Regions from separate parts of the Homo sapiens genome. Here all the other regions are linked to region 2. Evidence: promoter capture Hi-C in human tissues and cell types (Jung and others, 2019). All regions are on one chromosome and are shown on one strand. Each heading gives the region's core, a stretch centred on a gene start or on the middle of the fragment in contact. The rest is flanking DNA. Distances are from core to core; before and after follow the strand shown. Region 1 overlaps RANGAP1 (Ran GTPase activating protein 1). Region 2 holds the start of DNAJB7 (DnaJ heat shock protein family (Hsp40) member B7). Region 3 overlaps MRTFA (myocardin related transcription factor A).

Evidence for each region. The method cuts DNA at HindIII sites, captures the fragments that hold promoters and counts their contacts. A contact is called where the count stands out against the background at its distance.
Region 1: a fragment that was not itself captured here is called in contact with the fragment with the promoter of DNAJB7 in region 2 in 1 of the 25 tissues and cell types used here (dorsolateral prefrontal cortex).
Region 3: a contact is called between a fragment that was not itself captured here and the fragment with the promoter of DNAJB7 in region 2, in 1 of the 25 tissues and cell types used here (dorsolateral prefrontal cortex).

What each region holds. Positions count from the first base shown.
Region 1 is chr22:41,261,620-41,265,960 of GRCh38, forward strand. It overlaps RANGAP1 (Ran GTPase activating protein 1), which reads right to left. Exons shown (of 16, transcript NM_002883.4): 5 at 3,045-3,224. Among named protein-coding and RNA genes, the nearest start is that of MIR6889, 11 kb to the left of the region's middle. RefSeq lists an enhancer at 2,501-3,376. The HindIII fragment of the contact is 7,310 bases long and covers 1-4,341 here.
Region 2 is chr22:40,860,863-40,865,101 of GRCh38, forward strand. It overlaps DNAJB7 (DnaJ heat shock protein family (Hsp40) member B7), which reads right to left and starts at 1,251. Exons shown (of 1, transcript NM_145174.2): 1 at 1-1,251. The coding sequence starts at 1,132. The coding sequence ends at 203. All of the region lies in intron 1 of XPNPEP3 (X-prolyl aminopeptidase 3), which reads left to right. The HindIII fragment of the contact is 4,259 bases long and covers 1-3,622 here.
Region 3 is chr22:40,582,999-40,587,257 of GRCh38, forward strand. All of the region lies in intron 2 of MRTFA (myocardin related transcription factor A), which reads right to left. It also overlaps the pseudogene RPL4P6. Among named protein-coding and RNA genes, the nearest start is that of MRTFA, 52 kb to the right of the region's middle. The HindIII fragment of the contact is 5,364 bases long and covers 1-4,259 here.

The sequences.
Region 1 (4,341 bases), core at 1,481-3,980, 400 kb after region 2:
CCCCTTCTCCCAGCGGGGTGGCCACTGCTGCTGAACTGCTCTTCAACATCCCACGCCACCCATCGGTGCAGGTCAGGGGACGCAGGACTGCTAACAGCTCAACAGTCACACCTTAAATATGTCCAGCACTTCAGTTACACAAGGTTTTTATCTCTAATGCTGTGTCACACCAGCCTGAGAGGTTTAGCTTCACTTTCGAGACGGGGAGACCAAGCCCTACTCAGGAAAGGGAGAGACCACATGGAGTGGATGAACTTTTAGCCAGGTCCAGGGGAAGGACTTCCTAGTCAGCTCACTTCACTGTCTAAGGCCCTCTGCTAGGTGGGAAAATCATGGCTCCCATTTTCCAGCTGAAGAAACTCAGGGTAAGAGGAACGGAAACTTTCTTATGGTCAATAAACAAGTGGTGGACTCTGGACCAAAGCCCAAATCTTCCAGCTTCTCTTCCACGTTCCACAATGTCCAAGGGAGCCAGCTGCCAAGTCCACGGTCCAGACGAACCTGTCTGACACCTGCCTGTGCCTAAAAGCTGGCCAGGCACAGCAGGAGCTTGCCTGCTGGTGGTAAAAACCTAACACCCAGCTTGCCCTGTCCCTGGTGTGGTGCCAGGAAGTAGCTTCTACCCTGGTTACACCATTAGGAAAAGCACTGAAAAACGGAGACTGACCGATGGGAATCAGAGCCCATGGTAAATGCGACATAAAAGAATCACGAGCGAGTGCACCGAGAGAAGTGATATTTGCAGAACACCTGATGTTTGCAGAGCACCTGCTAGGGCCTGGGCATCCTTGGCATATTTTCTTGTTTCAACCTCAACACCAGCCTGGGAGGCAGGCAGGATTGGCCGTACTTTACAGATGAGGAAGCTGAGGCTCTGAGAGATGAGTGAATTGGCCAAGGTCACCCGGTAAGTATTTAGCAAAGCCGCACATGGCGGGTGGGTTGGCCTAACTCCTGGCATGAGACTGCACACAGCCATCCTTGAGGAACAGAAGAGCCAGCACCTGCCTGACTCCACGGTGGTGATGGTGGATCACGCACACACGATCACGCACACACTCAGGGTAGAGACATCAAACTTCTGCCAAAGACCAGCCTCTGAGGAAGCTACTCAGCAGCAGCAGCCGACTGCTAGGTCACCCCCATTCTCCCAGATTCCCTGGAGGCCACGTGGTGATGGCCTTAGCTCCTGCAGGAGTCCAACTTGGGTATGGAGAGTTCTCAAGCACAGGGCCATGCCTCTTGCCCCACCAACTCCTCTGGGCCCTTCTATTCTCATGGTGCATGGCACAGAAACCACACTAAACACACTGCCCAGAAGAAAAAGATTCCAAAGGACCTGCAGGCCTTGGTTAGACACCCAGACCATGGCGTCTGAGCTCCCAAGAGGCATAGGTCAGCAAGGCCGAGACCCAGAGACCTAATCAAATCAGTGGTCAGGGAGGCACAGAGAACCATCAATCAAACTCCAGGGTAGGCCTGTCTGCCCAGGAGGCCCTCTGGTCCTGGGTCCAAAACTCATTCCCCAACTCACCCCATTACAAGTATAGGACAGGCCAGACAACTCCTGGCCAGTAGGAAAGCTCCCTGAGCCTCAGTTTCCAGGCACTGCTGGGCAGGAGAAGGGAAGTAATGGAAGGAAAACCGAAGCATTTTGCTAGAATAGAGTCTCTGGCTCTCCCAGCGTATGCCACTCACTCTAGGTTGGGCCACGCCTGCTTTCTGTGCTGACGCAAACGTTTTTATATGTTTCTGTTTGTTTGTTTGTTTGTTTGTTTTTTTGAGACGGAGTTTTGCTCTTGTTGCCCAGGCTGGAGTGCAGTGGCGCCATCTCGGCTCACTGCAACCTCCACCTCCCGGGTTCGAGCAATTCTCCTGCCTCAGCCTCCCGAATAGCTGGGACTACAGGCACCTGCCACCACACCCAGCTAATTTTTGTATTTTTAGTAGAGATGGGGTTTCACCATGTTGGCCAGGCTGGTCTCGAACGCCTGACCTCAGGTGATCTGCCCGACTCGGCCTCCCAAAGTGCTGGGATTACAGGCATGAGCCACTGCACCACCGTGCCCGGCCCATTTTTACATCTTAACACAGGGATAGCTTATTGCCCAAGTGGACTTGGGGGAGGGCTGGCTAAGGCAGGCACAGAGCCTGCCCCTGCTCACCCTCACGTCAGGCCGAGGGACACAGGCACCCTCTGCAGGGGAGGCCACTCCAGCTCCTCAGCCTGGGGCTCCATGGGCCTCACAGCACTAGCTATGTGATCCACTCCACCCCATCTCTCTAAGCCTATGCTGAGTCATGTGGAAAAACTGGGATGGCATCAGCCACCTTTCAGTGTGGGTGGGAAAAGTTAAGGTATTGCATATTCAAATAAGATATCCCCAACTGCTGTTACTTCTGTGTCCCCAGCCCTTTTCTCCCTTTGGTTAGAAAGTGTGTGTAGGGGTTGCAGCCTGGCACTCAGTGTCCTCCAACCCTGGGTCTAAAGGCACTGGGATGGAGTTGGAAGAGAATAATACGGCAGGCCGCCCTTGATGCAGGTTCTGGGAAGCAAAGAAGCTCCACTCTACACTGACCAGCCCAACGTGAAGCTCTACACTGACCTTGCCTGAGGACACCTCCCTGGGCAAGGCCCTGTCTAGGAATAAAGGTGAGCTGTGACGGTGCCCCCCCTGAGCATATGCTCCTCTTTTCAGACTCCCTCTGCCTATGTGCCAGGCTCTACCAGCTGCTCTGCGGGTACAGTGAGTATAGGGATGCCCCAAGCCCTGAGTTTTGCAGAGCCAGCAGGCTGGAGCAGGTATGCAGTGGCACTCCCTCTGCGTTGCCAAGCCAACCCAAGAACTGGGGATGGTTGCTTGGCAACCCCACCCTCATGGACGCCTCTACCCTCCGGCCACAGGCTGTTGCCTTTGAGGCCTTTCTCTTTTGAAAACAACGGCTGACCATCCCAGATGGTGGTGGCCAAGGGCCAGGGCACATATGTCAGACGGATGTGGATGGACCAGGGGACTCTGCGGGGAGGGGGCTGCCACACCCACCTTGCCGCCGCCAATGCCCATGCCACAGTTGTTGAGCTTGAGTTCCTGCAGGGTGAAGCAGGCTGAGCTCTTGAGCAGGGCCTCGAAGCCTTGCACACCGTCGGGCCCGAATGCGTTGTCGCTTAAGTCCAGCTCCACCAGCTGAGCCCCAGCTGTGATGAGTCCTTCCCCTAGTGAGATCTGGGCACAGAGGAAGCTCGTGTCAGTTTCATAGACACCCAGCTTCTGTGCTGGGTGCTGCTTCTGTGCCAGGCCCAGCTCTGCCTTCCAAGGACACCCCGGCTGGTGCAGAACCAACACAGACACAAACCATTTCAGTATTCTTAAGACTGGAAACCCTGCAAAGGGCTCCTAACAGCTGGAGAGTGGGGGATGCGTATGCCTGGAGTGGCCCGGGAAGGCTCCTTGTAAGAGGTGGCATTTGGACTTAGTCTGGATGAGAATCAGCTAGTCAACATGAAAAGACTCCAGGCAGCTGAAAAAACAGGAGCAGAGAGACATAAGCATGAAGCAGCAGGCTGTGAGCCTGGAGGAAAGCTGTGGGTAGGCTCCAGAAGAAGCCGTGGCATGGGCTTTGGGTGGAAGGGAAGTGAGGGGTCAGATCAGGCAAGAGCCTTGAATGCCAGGCCAAGGACTGTGAGCCTCAGCCTGAGAGCAGTGGGCTTTGAGGTGGCTGAGGGATATGGAATTAATATCCCCAGACCTGAGGTGAGCAGATGCACAGAAAGGGGGGCTGGAGTGCCCACCCAGGAGTGTGAGGCAGCGACACTGGCAACAGAGGGGACCTGCCAGCCGGTGTGACAAGTGTGGGAGAGGAGCTGCCTGTTCATGGAGCAGGGGACATGCAGAAGCTGTTGGTTCCCTGTTCGTGCAGGAGGAGGGAGGGAGGAACCACAAATGCCTCCAGGGTTTCTGGTGGTGACTGGCAGATGGAGGTGGCCATCTCTAAGCCACGGCCAGGATCAGCTTTGACAGGGTGATTTGAAGCTCTCCTGGAAACCTCCTGGGCTGGGGAGAGCTACATTCCCTCACCCCACCAGGAGAAATGGTCAGAGAGGAGGCTCTGCCAGAGACTGGGTCAGAAATGGGGCTGAGCAGGTGGTCCATGGGGGCAGGAATGTGGAAGGGAGACTTTCTGCCCTCACCCTGGCCACAGATATGGCAGATGAGGCAGTTTCTACCATCCTCCCACCACTCAGTAAGCAAAAGGCAATGTGTCCTCTCGTTGCCCTACCCACAGAAAGCCTAGCCCCTGGTGGCTGGGTGCGGTGGCTCACGCCTGTAATCCCAGCACTTT
Region 2 (4,239 bases), core at 1-2,500:
CAAATTCTTATTAGCACCAACTGTCACCACAAACTCATCCTTTTCTGACATACCCATTCAAAAAAACTACTAACCAAATGTCCACAATCCTGCTAAAAGTGTTGAAAAGCTCTTAGTATAGTATTAAGTGTTATCTACAAAATTTGTGATTAACCAAAACACACACAATTGTGTTCAAATGTTATATATTTGAAGAGTCAATTTAACAATTCCTTTTGGTAGACTTCTTTTGCACCTCTTTACGCTTCTTTTTTTTCCTCTTACCACCCTCTTTGACTCCTGCTGAGAAAATAGGGGGATCTCTGTTGCTGGTAACCCAAGATATACCTCCCTCATCATTGTCCACGAAAGTATATTGAGATACATGTTTGGAGCTGTGAGAATTTGGTGAATAGTTGTTGAATGACTGTGTTCTCCAGCTGCATTCTTTTGCAAAGCCCTCTTCATTGGCCACACTATTTACAAGAAAAAATGTCAACTCTCCATTATCTTCAGCTTCTCTTTCTTGATCACTTTCAATAATTTTCTTTGTATTAATATTTCTGCCATTAACGATTTTGTCTGAAGTTGTAACAGATATGTAGTTGTCCATCCCACTATTATCAAAAGCCAGGGAAGAGAAAGAAGTAAGGCCTTCATGCCCCAATGAACCCTGTGATGTATATCCTGTATCATATGAAGAAAATTTCTCAAAAATTGGATATTCACTGGCAGTGGAGAAAAAGTATCCTGCATCTCTGTTTCTGTTTCCATAGGAGCTTCCTGGACGATTTAACAGGTCCTCAAGCGAGTCTTCAAAGAAGTGAAAAGAAAATGGATCCCTTTCATGAAAAATTTCTTTAAAAACATCATCTGGCTTATGGAATGTGAAGCCGTACTCACATTCATCATCAAAATGACTTCCACCTCCGTTTAATCCTTCTGTGCCATATTTATCATAAATGTCCCGTTTCTCATCATTTGATAATACCTCGTATGCCTCAGCTACTTCTTTGAATTTTCTCTCTGCTTCTTCTTTATTTTCTGGATTTTTATCAGGGTGCCATTTAAGTGCCACTTTATGATAAGCTTTTTTAATGTCCTCAGGTGAAGCATATCTTTGCAGTCCTAGAACTTCATAGTAATCCACCATGTTTTAACAGATAGTTGGAAGTGGGTGTGCTGGGTATTGAGAACCGTGGTTTCCTCAGCTCAGGCTCTGCTGGTGGTGGTGATAGAGGTAGTGACTGCAAATAGGTACACTTTTATGTTAAAGACAATGTTATTACCATGTGCTAAGAGATGAGGATACTGATTATGTGGCAAGCAGAGTTACAAATATGTCAGAGAGGGCTGCATTATGGTGTCATTCTGGGGTCAGTGTAGGGACTGGACCTTCCAAATAGAGCTAGTCCAGAGTCGTACCAGACCATCCTGAATCCTCTGGACTGTTTCCCCTGTATGTTTCCCTGGAAGCTTCAGGCAGTGCCTCATAAGCCAATGGAATCTGTTGCTAATAGCCACAGCATATCCCTTGCATAATATGACCTCTAGATTACTGCGCCTTAATTGCTTCCCAGCTCTTCTATGCTTTGGTTTAGAAAAATGAAGTACTGACTTACGGGTGAAGAAAGTATTCAAACAGTTGACATATTTATTTCAGTCAAGAAACAGTTCAGAGGGAGATACAAACAAGTAACTTAGTTACAATATAATAGTTATGATGAGAGGAAGTACTGGATGCTAAACAATTATATGAGAGACAGCTCAGGCTGGGGGTGTCAATGAAAGCCTCTTGGAGGAAGTAGCCTGATATGTTAACTTTCTGCATGCCAGTGGTAAGTCATTTGAGATTATAGTATCTTTGTCCACCCAAGGTTTACTGCTGTAAAACATGTAATTAAAGATTTGGAAAGTTGTGTGTTTATGTATTCACTGTATAATTATTGATTGTCTACTTTGTGCCAGGCACCGTTTTAGCCACTGGTGATAGCAGTATTGAACAAAAGACACCAGTTTTCCTGGTGCTTGCATTATAATAGAATACAAATAGGAGAACAAATAAAATAATTTAAGATAATGCGATATGTGCTCCAAAAAAAATAGCAATGTGCTGGGGGCAGAGCGCTACTTTAGATTGGTTTTAGAAGGCTTCTGAGGAGATGACATTATTGCTGAGACCTATATGACAGTCAGCCACATAGTGATCTAATATGGTAGCCACTGGCCATGTTGATGGACATTTTGGTTGTTGCCAGTTGGGGCTGTTGGACATAAAGCTAGCACTTATTTCAAGTACAGTGGGAAGCCTTTGTGGGGAGTGGGGAATATGCAAGTTTAATGATGTGATTTACATTTGTAATGGATCAGTGGCTACTATTTGGAAATTCAGTCATGTATGGGAAAGTAGAATTCGAGAGCCAAATTAGAAACAGACCAAAGGTGATTTTCTTTGGGGATAAACTACCAGTAGTCTAGACCCGAATTTAAAGGTCTTATATTCTATACCTGGCTCATTTTATTGTCTGAGAAAATTCCCTGTAATCTTTGTTTTTCCTCCTCTATGTTGTGTTTATTTTATTTTCCATCACATTTATAACCCCTCAGTTAAATGATACGCTAATGAAATCTAAAACTGTAGTGTATGCTTCTAGTCTTTCAAGACCATTTGTCAGGTCTGAATATTTTTTTGCTTTGCATTTTTATATATACTCATTTTTTAGAGGTATTGTGAAATGCTTAAAACTCAATTTAAATTCTCTCCAGTGTATGTGCTTACATGTACTTATGTGTGGCTTACCCATGATTATAATTTGCCTACCACTGGAAATAATAACCAATAATGTCGAAAATTATTTGAGTACCCTCTGAGTCACACTGTAGCAAGTGCTCATTTAACTGACACAGCACTCTAGCAAAATAAATATTTTATGCCCATAAGAAAACAGACGTTCTGAGAGAGAAAGTAATTTGTCTAAGGCTACATAGCTTGTTAGTGAAAAATCTGATTTTTAAACTTGAGTCTAATTTCAAGTTCTCATTCCACTCTACTGCATTTCTCGGACTAGGACTTAAAGAGTTTAGGTTCTAGGCATTCCACAAACAGATACTGAGAACCTGCTGTTACCGGAAAGGGGTCCCAATCCAGACCCCAAGAGATGGTTCTTGGATCTCGTGCAAGAAAGAATTTCAGTGGAATCCACAGAGTAAAGTAAAAGCAAGTTTATTAAGAAAGTAAAGGAATAAAGAATGGCTACTCCATAGGCAGAGCAGCCCCAAGGGCTGCTGGTTGCCCATTTTTATGGTTATTTCTTGATTATATCCTAAACAGGAAGTGGATTATTCATGCTTCCCCATTTCAGACCATATAGGGTAACTTCCTGACGTTGCCATGGCATCTGTAAACTCTTGGGGTGCTGGTGGGAGTGTAGCAGTGAGGACAATCAGAGGTTACTGTCATTGCCATCTTAGTTTTAGTGGGGTTTGGCCAGCTCCTTTTTTTAAGAACATCACAGGTAAAGCTCACAGGAAGGTGACAGTCTAGGAGAAGATGTTCGCAGTGTCTAAATTTGACAGGGACTTATTTTATTTTCATTATTATTGTTACTATTATTATTATTTGAGGTGGAGTTTCGCTCTTATTGCCCAGGCTGGAGTGCAATGGTGGGGTCTTGGCTCACTGCAACATCTACCTCCCGGGTTCAAGCCATTCTCCTGCCTCAGCCCGCTGAGTAGCTGGGATTACAGGCATGCACCACCACGCCCGGCTAATTTTGTATTTTTAGTAGAGAGGGGGTTTCTCCATGTTGGTCAGGCTGATCTCGAACTCCCAACCTCAGGTGATCTGCCCGCCTCAGCCTCCCAAAGCGCTGGGATTACAGGCATGAGCCACCGCACCCAGCTGGTCAGCTTCTTTACTATAACCTACCTGTTTTATTAGCAGGGTTTTTGTGTCCTGCATTTTGTGCTGACTTCCTATTTCATTCTGTGATTAAGACTGCCTTAACTTACTGGGAATGTAGCCCAGTAGGTCTTAGCCTTATTTTACCAAACCCCTACTGAAGATGGAGTTGCTCTGGTTCAAACGCCTCTGACACTATGATACAGAGAAAAGGTAGAAAATAGGAAATTCTGCTCTTAAGAAATTCATATAGTTTGAAAAAACTAATTTCAGTGGAGTGTAAAGTTATAATACGAGCACTTGTTTCTGCAGTTATACCCTTCTTTGTTGATCCTTTGCCTCCCAGCCATCCGCTGTGC
Region 3 (4,259 bases), core at 1,399-3,898, 280 kb before region 2:
CACATCCATGTCTTTTGCCAAATGAGGCAAAATAAAGTAAAAAGTCTTTAACAAATGGAGCTATGAAAGAGCCTGAAAAGCCTGAGAGCTACACAAGAGCTCTATTACTAATATTCTTCCCTGATTAAAAAAAACAGAGCTTTGTTTTGCCTGTAACAGACACTATCAATCCTCCCAGTAACTTGAAGGCAAATATAGCCACATGACAGCTCATTAGCATTTCAGAGAAAAAAACTATGATATTTAGTGAAAAACAAAATGTGTAATAATGAAACCATAGCTCCCTATGATGACACTAGGGGCCCAGCTCACAAACTAGGCAGTCAGAACTTTGGTAACCTTATCTTTTCTAAAGCTAAATTTTCCTGCAGAAGTGCCTCAAGACCAAAGAAGAGGACAATTCCCCAGCTTTACCTCTGGCTGGATTAGGCACACTCAAGCCACAAAACATAATACAAAGAGAATGTTGCAAGTAATCAGACTTGCAATTCAAGGAAAGCACAGTAAAGCAGAATCAAAAGACTCTCTAGGTCAGGGGTTCCCAACCCCCAGTCCATGGCCTGTTAGGAACCAGGCCACACAGCAGGACTGAGTAGTGGGGAGCAACTATTACGGCCTGAGCTCTGCCTCCTGTCAGATCAGCAGTGGCATTAGATTCTCATAGGCAGCATTAGATTCTCACAGGAGCACAAGCCCTACTGTAAAATACACATACAAGGGATCTAGGTTGCACCTTTCTTATGAGAATCTAATGCCTGATGATCTGAGGTGGAAGAGCTTCATCCCAAAACCTTGCCCCCCTGCCTCAGTCCATGGAAAAACTTTCTTCCACGAAACTGGTCCCTGGTGCCAAAAATGTTGGAGACCACTACTCTAGGTGGATCATAAGATCATAAGCACAGAGCAGTTCACAGAAAGTGCACAGGACGAGGTGCTCATCTCCAGTTTTCATCCCCATGTGGTATATATAGTATTTGTCATCTGCATAGTACTTTGTATGTCCAGACTATTTTATAATCACAATTCTGGGATTATTTCATCACAATAATCGAGTGTGACAGATTAAAATTTACTGTCCTTCTTCTAAGCATTCAGATTACAGTAGATGGGAAAAAAATCAGGATGGCAGAACAGAAAAACAGACTCTTGTAAGGTCTCAAAACCTTGTCAAAAACATGATAGAATTTCTGAATTTTAGGATTTGAAGAAATCTAAAGTGTCCAATGGTTTCCGATGCTAAGAAACTAAAGCTCAGAAGGGTTGTAAGCAATTTGCCCAAGGTCTCCAAATAAGTAAGTGGCAAAGCCAGGAAAACCCAGACATCATGACTCCCAAGTCAGCCTTTCCATACATACAACCATAGTGCCTTTTCCAAAAGCCAATAATAAAATAGATGCGGAGGATTCTGAGCTGTCTGGCTCAGCACGTTATCTTGTCTTTCAAAATGCTAAGTCTCAGGCAGGCGTGGTGGCTTGCGCCTATAATCCCAGCACTTTGGGAGGCTGAGGCAGGAGGATCACCTGAGGTTGGGAGTTTGAGACCAGCTTGACCAACATGGAGAAAACCTGTCTCTACTAAAAATGCAAAATTAGCCGGGTGTGGTGGCACATGCCTGTAATCCCAGCTACTCGGGAGACCGTAGCAGGAGAATCACCCAGGAGGCAGAGGTTGTGGTGAGCCAAAATCGCACCATTGCACTCCAACCTGGGCAACAAGAGTGAGACTCTGTCTCAAAAAAAAAAAAAAAAAAAGCCAAGTCTCTTGAGCTGGGCACAGTGGCTCAAGCCTTAATCCCAGCACTTTGGGAGGCTGAGGGGGGTGGATCACTTGAGGTCAGGAGTTTAGGACCGGCCTAGCCAACATAGTGAAACCCCATCTCTACTAAAAATACAAAAAATTAGCTGGGCGTGGTGGCGCACGCCTGTAGTCCCAGCTACCTGAGAGTCTGCGGTGGTAGGATCGCTTGAACCTGGGAGGTGGAGGTTGCAGTGAGCCAAGATCGCACCACTGCACTTCCAGCCTAGGCAAAAGAACAAGACTCGGTCTCAAAAAGAAAACAAAAAAGTCAAGTCTCTCCTCATATTCACTTACCAAAGAACAAAAATATTACAAGTCCAGAGAAGTCATCACTTCTGCCGATCTGAAGGGAAGAGGAAACAAGGCAGTCCAGGCCTCAATGCTGCTGAGCAGGAAGGCTCCATGGTGTAACTTGTTCTAGATGTCTGAGGTCGATGATTACTACTTTAATTTTTAACTTGTATGTAAAACATTATATAAACTTTTTTAAAAATCACATAGGCTAAATTTATAACAAAAAGTTATATATGCTGTATGATTCCACTTATATGAGGTACCTAGAGAGGTCAAAATCATAGACACAAAGTAGAAGGGTAGTTTCCAGGGGGAAGGAGGAGGAGGGAATAGGGACTTATTTGTTTAATGGGTGTAGAGTTTCCGTTTCACAAGCTGAAAAGAGTTCTGGAGATGGATGGTGATGACAGTTGCATAACATTATGAATGTATATAATACCACTGAACTATATACTTAAAATGATTAAGATGGTAAATTTCATGTGTATTTTAACACAATAAATGAAAGTGGGGGAAAGAAAGTAATAGTGAAGACAACATGACCAGAATAACATTTTAAAAGCATCAATTAGACAGCTAAAAGAACAGAGCTAGGTGATGGCAGGGGATGAGAGTTAGCAGAGAATGCAATTAGGAGGCTACTGGAGAAGTCTAGGAGAGAGATGAAGGTGGCTTAGCCAAGGGCAATAGTTGAGCAGAGAGATATAGTAAGACTTGGGATATATTTTAAAGCCTGAGTTAAAATTTCATGAACATATATCCTAACACAGTATTTTTAACTGCAATTCATAATACACAGGTCACAGAATCAATTTCCTAGGCCAACATCAACATCTTGCAATTAAATAAAATGGAATAAAATAGAAACGAGCAGATTGCACTGCACCTAATAAGGGTAAGTATTATTTCATGAAACTTTTGTTTTAGATATCGATATACTTACGTGTGTATTGGGTCTGAATGTAAAATACATCTTGAACGATGAACCACAGCCAAAAATGTTGAGAAACATTGCCCTAGAGACTGATAAAATGGTAGGTGGAAGTTGAGAGTAATTATTTTTTTTTATCTCCATCAAAGTCCTTACTAGGCTCAAGTGAAACAAGCTACAACAAGTTGAATTACATACCTAATAAAATCTTATTGATCTGCCAAACAAATACATCATTTGCTCTTCAAAAAAAAAAAAAAGAAGGAAAGAAAGAACAGTACAAACAATAACCAGGCATCACTGGAATGCGAAGCACAAATTGTATTATTTCCATCAACCATGAAGATACAAAGATTACTAAAGGAATAATGCCAATCTTCTTTAACCACTAAACCACTCTAGCCATTCAACTACTCTTAATTTTAGAAGTTAAACCCTACCAAAACACATTCATAATGGCAAACGCCCTCAGAATCTTCAGGAAAATACCTTACTCTCCCAACTGAGAAAATATGGCCTAATTCCCCTGGAATAATTCAGAGATTACATACTAAAGCTCTGAAGGATTTGTTCAAAAAGCTTCCTGCCATGAGCAATCACTGTTTTTTTCACTGATCAGGTCTTTATTAAAAATAAGCTGTCCAAAATTATTTGACCTTTATGGAATAAACCAACAAGCTCATGCAGCAGGCTTCGTTTCCTCTGTGGTAGGTTTTTTTTTCAGCTACTGATGTCTTGGTTGGTAGCTGCTGCCCTTTTTCCCACCAGAGGTTTCTCCTGCTTAAAAACAACAACCTTCTTTCCTTTCTTCCCTACCACAGGCTTCTTGACTGCAACCCCCTTTCTCATCTGATTTGGCCTCTAGTGCTGCTGGTGCTGCTGGTGCTGCTGGTGCTGGTGCTGGTGCTGCTGCTGCTGCTGCCACCGCCGCCGCTGCCTTATCCACCTGGAGTTTGTGGTTGCTGGCCTGGCAAAGCCTGGTGTTGCAGAGCATGGTCTTTGCATATGGGTTTAGCTTCAACATGATTTTCAGGTTTTCCAGGAGGTTTGTCCCCAGGACTCTACGATGAATCTTCCTGCAACGTGCTTGAAGGGCTTTGGATGTCTGGGCTTTTCAAGATTCTGCTAAGGTCTGTATTGATCATCTTGTGCATGCAAAGATTGCAGTTACTCTTGAGGAAACAGCTTTACACCAAGTGCCACACAATTGTCTAACTTCTAGAAAGCACTTTCAGTC